2 separate regions of the Homo sapiens genome follow, and region 2 is linked to region 1. The links are contacts of gene promoters, found by promoter capture Hi-C in blood cells and fetal thymus (Javierre and others, 2016). All regions are on one chromosome and are shown on one strand. The core of a region is centred on a gene start or on the middle of the fragment in contact, and the rest is flanking DNA. Distances in the headings are between cores, read along the strand shown.

Region 1 (3,695 bases), core at 523-3,022:
CTGCACTCCAGCCTGGATGACAGAGTGAGAAACTGCAAAAAAAAAAAAAAAAAGAAAGAAAGAAAGAAAGAAAGAAAGAAAGAAAGAAAATGGTCAAATAATAACCTAAACAGTTGTCATTTTAACAATGAAAAGCTTTTTAAGATACGCAACATGCCTATGGATCAATGTAGATTGAATCATCTATTTATACTGGCTTGTCAAAAGCAAACAGTTACTGGGTATAAAATGACAACATACAATAGAAAAGACACCCAATCAGATTACACACGTGAATACACTCAAAGTTAGCAATTTAACACAGCATCACTAATGGCCATAAGATATACAGACTTAATTCTAAATATTCAATTCTAAATGATGGTACTTCCCCCAAATTTTCCTTGCCTCTTTAAATCCATGATGTCATCATTCTTAAGCAGAAGTAAAGCCAATTTGTTACAAAAGATATTTTGGTGTGTCCAAGCAAAAGCAATCGCCTCAACAATTCTGCATAGCACAAGTTCAGTGAAGCCATCATTCCTCAAGAAAGAGACCACAAGGCTTCAAACCGACTTCCCTACATGACAGAAACACAATCGAAGTCTCCCAATTAGCATTTAAACAGCAATAAAAGTTGTTCTCAAAAAGGAACAACATAGTTTCAACGTCGGGGCCAGCAACTGCCAGCAAGTAAAACTGGTAATGTGTCAGAATCTTCATCTAGATCGATCAGAATCCCACCACAGAAAAATCCAGACTCTGGCAATTAAGAAATGAGGCTTTTATTTTCCTAACAGAAATCGGGAGATTTAACAGACAAAGCAATTGGTTATTCTGAATCTTAACAAACCGAAGGTTTCAAACGAACTCAGCGCTGAAGTTACTCTGCAGCGACCATCAAGATCTCACAATCGTTTTCTCTTCGCTTACAAATTCGTTCCCACCCTCCACCGTTCCCTTTGCACACACAATTCTCGCCAAGAGAAGCCTTCCACAGTCACAGCATGGATTGCTGTCTCAAGCAAGGAGATCCGCAGTTCCCATTTCTCTAAGGGAACACTCAACAAGCTAGGGGATAGGAAAGGCCTTTTGTGTTTTATTTAACGTAAACCAATTCCAAAATTATCCCTTTGCAGCTGCAGGTTCAGAGATGCTAGCCCCCAGCCGCAGCCCCAATTTTGATGGGCACCCGACCCCCGACTCCTCTCTCGCAAAGGAGTGAAATGTTCGGAGGAGCGATGAAAGATTACCTGACACCCTAAAGCCATCCTTGCCCGGGCCACACACCCCTTCACTGCCCGGGTGAGGGGACGAGAACCACCCTGCTGAGGAGAGGGGGTGGGTTCGCTCCCAACCCAAGGGCTGGCTGGAAAGGAGCTGTCCTCCTCCTCGCCTCACTCGAGGACGGCGATAGCAAGTCACCCTGCCCAACCAGGACCGACCCCCGCGTGGGATACGGGGCCTGCGTCAGACCCCGGGCGCCCGCTGCCCCTTGCCAGTCCCGGGCATAAAGGGCAGAAGGCGCCGGCTCCCCTCTGCGGCCCGGGGAGGAGGAGAGGCCTCACCTGGCCCAGCCCGCTCCACGCTCTCGGGTTCGCTCCGCTGGCGACGGTAATGAGGGAGCCAGGGACAGGGCCAGAGCAGAGGCGCTCTGCCTCAGGCCGCGACAGCCGTGCTCGGGGCTCCTCACAGCTGGCGGGACCCCGAGCCGCCCGGAGCCGCCATCTTCCTCCACTCAAACGCCGCCGCCGCCGCAGCTGCTGCTGCTCAGGCCGGGAGAAGACAGCGCAGAGCGCGCATGCGCCGGGGCGGGCGCGGCGGACGCGCGCGCACTCACGTCAGCGCGGCGGGATGGCGAGGGGCGGCCAGGGGGCGGCGCAGTGTTGAGAAAGGCCGTGGTCACAGGCCGAGGTTCTGTGGAGGGTGGAATGCGCTCGGGGGAGCTAGGCCTCCGCACCCGCCTTCGCCGCGTCTCTAGCGTCGACCTGATAGCCGCACCCACCCTCCGCTGCACTGTCTGGGGCAACTGGGTGGTTTTCCCGGTGGTTTGAGACTAACATTTAGCCAGGAATTAACTCACTTCTACCCCGAGGGCCCGATGAGCAGAGAGGGCTGTGGCGGATGTGAGTGCTCTTGGATATCGCCAAGGGGAGGGAAACTGTGCTTGAGGTGTGCAGGAGAAGTCTTCCCTTAACCGTAGCCTCGTAGCAACCACTGTGAGTTCTTACTAGCTCCACTTTTCAGATGAGGAAACTGAGGCACAGAAAACGATCACTTATTTGCCCGGAGTCACACACCTATCAGTGGAGGTGGGGCGGCGCGGGAAAGAGGATTTAAACTCAGGCTTGTCTGGTTCCCAAGCTCCTTTACTTCCTACTAGCTAGGTTATAGGATCCAGCAAAGTCCCCCTTCTCAAGGGAGCAACCTGGTGTGTAGGTGAGAACCTTCATGAGCCCAGCCCTACAGCATGTGGTCTAAGGAAATGCCAGATACAGAGTCAAAGGCTTCAGTCTAAACTCTGTAAGCCAAAAAAACAAAACAAAACAAAACAAAAAACTAAGCCCCCACCCCCCCCCCAACACCAAACCATCTGAACGGACTTCCTCCTAGGCCAGGGCAGTCTAAAATGTAACCAACCTGAGAGACTGGTTCAGGCCATGACGGGAAGCAGGACATGAGACATGCCTCATTACATCCTTCAGCATTGACATCAACACAACAGACCTTAAGACTGGTAAGAAACATTTACAATCTGTTCTCTCTGGAGCCCACCTGCCACTTGGAGGCTTCACGTGCGTGATAAAACTTTGGTGTCCACAATCCCTTATCATAACCCAGACATTCATTTCTATTGATAATAACTTTTTTTTTTTTGAGACAGGGTCTAACTCTGTTGCCCAGGCTGGAGTCCAGTGATGAGTTCTTGGTTCGCTGCAACCTCTGTCTTTCAGGCTCAAGCTATCCTCCTACCTTAGCCTCCTGAGTAACTGGGACTACAGGCGGGCACCACCATGCCTGGCTAATTTTTCCATTTTTTTTGTAGACACAGGGTTTCGCCATGTTGTCCACTCTCATCTCAAACTCCTGAGCTCAAGTAATCCACTTGCCTCGGCCTCCCAAAATGCTTGGATTACAGGCGTGTGCCACCGCACCAGGCCTATTGATAATAACTATTTCAACTCATTGCCAATCAGAAAATGTTTAAATCTGCCTATAATGTGGAAGCCCCCACTTCAAGTTTCCGGTCTTTCTGCACCGAACCAATGTAGTTTTTATTTATTTATTTACTTATTTTTATTTATTTGTTTATTTTTTTGAGACTGAGTCTTGCTCTGTCGCCCAGACTAGAGTGCAGTGGCACCATCTCCGCTCACTGCAACTTCCGCCTCCTGGGTTCAACCGATTCTCCTGCCTCAGCCTCCCGAGTAGCTGGGATTACAGGCGCCCGCCACCGTGCCCAGCTAATTTTTGTATTTTCAGTAGAAAATACAAAATTCAGTAGAAAATACGGGGTTTCACCATCTTGGACAGGCTGGTCTCAAACTCCTGAACTCGTGATCCACTCACCTCGGCCTTCCAAAGTTCTGGGATTACAGGTGTGAGCCACGGCGCCTGGCCTTTTTATGTATTTATTGAGACAGGGTCTCACTCTTCGCCCAGGCTGGAGTGCAGTGGTGTGATCTCCACTCACTGCAACCTCTGCCTCCCAGGTC
Region 2 (3,695 bases), core at 1-2,500, 230 kb before region 1:
GTAGGGCAAGAGAGCTCTGGTTAGGTAGGCCTGGGAGAAGGAGCCACAGCCTAGAAGCTTGCCAAGGTGGCCCACCATCAACAAAGTTAGGAAAACGACAGAAGCCTCAACTCTGTACGATGCTTTAAAAAAATAAAAATAAATCAAATCTTCTGAATTATCTGTGAGGCAGGTGCTCTTTTTCATCCCCATTTTGCAGATTAGAGAACTGAGGTCAGAGAGGTAAAGTGACTTGCCTGAAGTCACACAGCTAGGAGGTGGAAGAGCTGGGAATCAAACCAGCTATGAACAAATGCCTTCCCTCCCCTCACCCCTAGTCTGTTCCCAGTGCCCCCAGCTCAGGCCTCCTTCCCAGGAACTCTCTAGGGATGTCGCTCAAAGCCTCTCTGCCCAAGGTCTCTTCCCACCTGCTGCCTCATTTCTCCCTCACTCCTTCCAAGTTCCCACTGCTGATCATGAAGGAAGGACTTGGGAAATACTTGAAGGGTTAAACTTTGCGAGTCTTCATGGGTGAGGCTTGCGGGTCACCAGATCCAGTGACTAGGAAGATGTCTTCCCTTGGGGAAACCTCAGTTTCCTCCCGTGTAAAATGGGAGCTACTGTCCATCTGGAGGGCGAGAGACCTCAAAACCAGCAGCCGAGGGGGAAGGCAGCATCAGTACCAGATGGACAGATGTGCCCAGGAGCCCACAGCCCTGCTTTCCCACCCCCACAGGGTACACGCTCTCCTGGGGCCCCCTTCCATGCCCCTCCGTCCCCTCATGAAATCACTTATGCTCCCAGGAACCTGTGAGGAGGGCATTTATTACTCACTTTGGGAGTTTTCTCCTCCACCGTCCTCACCCACTAGCCCAAACCCATGAAAACACCCAAGTTTTTATGGGCCGACTTTTGGCTGTAAAGGGAGCTAATTATATGATGCAAGATCCTAGTTGCAGTTCTGCAGACATGACTTTCCCACAGGCTCCGGGAGCCCCGGCACAGGCGCAGAGCAGGGAAGGGCAGACCCAGGTGAGTTGGGGGGACTCCAGGACCTCCCGCAGAGGCTGGTGCTCCCACAGCAGCAGGAAGGCCGAGACATTTGGGACATTTGGGAGAACTTCCTACGCTACCTGCACAGGACGTTTCTAACCTATACAGTTGGAGGTGCTGAAAAAGCAGCAGTTTCCCACACACTTGAAGGTCTCAAATTGTGGTCCCTGGAAAAGCGCTCAGACCACGGTGAAGGAGACAGGACCCCCGGCCTGACCCCAGATTCACTCGATTTGCAGTTCCGCAGGTGGGGCAAGGAGTCTGCATTTGGTTGAATCCCAGAAGAAACCTGACATCCGGTTTAAAAACCAGTGGGTTGTAAGCTCCAGGAGGACAAGTGCTGAGACCTTGTCATCTGGGCCCATCACCCCCACAGCACCTGCTCCCGCCCCCACCCCTGCCCAGGGTCCAGGATAGGCCTGGCACATAGTAGGTCCCTAGGAAGTGTCTGCTGCATGAATGCATGAGCGAATGAATGCTTTAGCGGAGGTTGGGCCGTTGCTGGGCCACCTCTGGTCCCTCTTGCAAATGGTAGTGGTTAATCTCACAGGATGGGAGCACAGTTTGCTTTGGAGGCCCTGCGTAGAAAACTCCAAGGCCATATACTCGGTGAGCTCCTACTGTGTTCTGGCCCTGGGTGCAGGGAGACGGGAGTAAGAAATGGCTCCTGGAGCCTCACGTGTCAGATCATTCATTCATTCAGCAAGCATTCCTTCAGTGCCAAGCCTATGCCAAGGGCACTGGAGACCCTAAGATCTACAGCCTGTGCCCTCGACCCCCACACAGGATGCAAATGCTGTAGTCCCAGCTCTAGACAGAGCCTGGGGTTGGGCTATTTTTCTGGGGTGCAACATCCACGCCTTTCGTCAGCTGCTCACAAAACATCTGGGACCACTAGTCTAGCTAGAAACCCAACTGACTCCAAAATAGCACAAATGGAGAAGAGACAGTGGCTGTGGGACCCCAGGGGACCAGGCAGCTGGTCCCCTGGGAGGGAGTCAAGAAGGCAGGAGGCTGAGAAGGGGAGGAGGTGGGACACTGAAGCCTAAATCCTGATCCCATTGGGAAAGGCACGCATTCCCCTGCTACCAGCTCCAAGTCTCCCGTTGGGACCCATGGCGTGTGTAGACCCAGGCTTCAGGTTTTAAAAAGTCCTTTGAGATCCCCATTTATTTGGAAAGAGGCAGAGGGGAAGGAGGAGGCATGCAGGCCCCAGCTCTGAGCACCAGTGGCTGGTGGGAGGAGCGGGTGGTGGGTGGTGGGGGGCGCCGAATGACTTCCTGCCTTTATCCAGGCCCTTTCACAACAACGCGCACTGCAGCGCACACACACACAGCCTCCATCCATCCAAGACTGCCCCGTCCCTGCTCGTGGGAAAGGAATTGGCGAGGAGCACCCTGGGCTATTTAGGGAAGCTTCTAAGAACATGTGTTTCCCATAAGCACTTCTCCGTGCCCTCAGCTCTGGTCCCCAGAAGAGAGGCTGTGTTGTCCTTGGTGGGAGCCCCTGGAGGAGCAAAGGGTCTGGTGGATGTTCCCAGGAAAAAGGAGAAAAGGAGGGGGCATTTGCACAGTGCTAGGGGAGGAAAGCAAGGGAGTGGAGGAAAAGAGGAGAGCAATGAGGATTTAGCACCCACTGTATACCAGTCGTGTCATCTGCGCTGCACCCATGCAATCCCATCAAACTTGATCAAGGTCACCCGCTAGGAAGTGGCAGATGCGGGACTTGAACCCAGGTATGTGTGCAGAGCCCAAGCCTGTGGCCCTGCTGGGCTGGCGGGCAGCAAAAGACATCCTGTGATCCATCTCCCCTCCCTACGTGTCCCCGCCTCCCCTCTGGTCGGCTCTGTTCCTGCCTGCTTCCCATCACCGACTGTCCCCTGAGGGAGGCTATGGCCTTGGCCAGCAGGTTGGGAGCCCAGCTGAGCAATTTCCAAAGGCCCTAGAGAATGTTCATGAACAGGCTCAAATCCCAGAACTTCTGTGACCTAGAACCATGGGAGGCCCAGGTCATCCCCTCCATACGGTTCCCAAAACCTCCCAGCCTCCCGGTCTGTTCCCGCCATGATCTTTGACCATGCACAAGCTGGGTTGTTGAAACTGGCCACTATTTTTAGAGGCACAAAAGGCTAAGAGGATAGGGTCTCCCCCTTCCTGGGACAGGAGGAGGTGTCTGTGCCAAGGCCATGCCGGGAAAAGTCTCAATGCTGGAGTTGGGAAGGGGAGAAGAGCTGCCAAGGGGCAGCTTGACAAAGGGGCAAACCCAGGGCCAGCAGAGAGTAAGTGGCACTTCTCACCAGGTGGGACTGCAGGCTGAGAGCCAACCAAGTGGAGAGAGGTGCCCGGGGTAGGCCAGGGGTTCTCTCTCCTGGGCAGCAGTCAGGGCATCTTGGAGAAGACTGCCCCAAACTGGCTGTGTGACCTCAGGCAAGCCGGTAACATCTCAGCCTGTTTCTCTACCAATGACCTCTCCGATCCCTGCGCTCTGGGATCCCGACTGACTGGGCCTGGAATCCTGCTCTCCCCCTCATGGCTGTGGGACCCTGGGCAGGTCACTGCACTTCTCTGCATCTGTTTCTCACCTGCACCTGTTTCTCACCTGTTAACAGGACTCACCCCGCTGGGTTCTCATTCAAAGTGCTCAAGCAGAGACGGCACATAGCC

What was found. The method cuts DNA at HindIII sites, captures the fragments that hold promoters and counts their contacts. A CHiCAGO score of 5 or more calls a contact.
Region 2: a fragment that was not itself captured here is called in contact with the fragment with the promoter of FBXO42 in region 1 in 1 of 17 cell types (endothelial precursors); the score reaches 6.0 in endothelial precursors.

Annotation. Positions count from the first base shown.
Region 1 is chr1:16,350,708-16,354,402 of GRCh38, forward strand. It overlaps FBXO42 (F-box protein 42), which reads right to left and starts at 1,773. Exons shown (of 10, transcript NM_018994.3): 1 at 1,548-1,773. RefSeq lists an enhancer at 1,038-1,812. The HindIII fragment of the contact is 4,914 bases long and covers 134-3,695 here.
Region 2 is chr1:16,125,466-16,129,160 of GRCh38, forward strand. The region is part of intron 16 of EPHA2 (EPH receptor A2); the gene reads right to left. Among named protein-coding and RNA genes, the nearest start is that of EPHA2-AS1, 28 kb to the right of the region's middle. The HindIII fragment of the contact is 2,390 bases long and covers 56-2,445 here.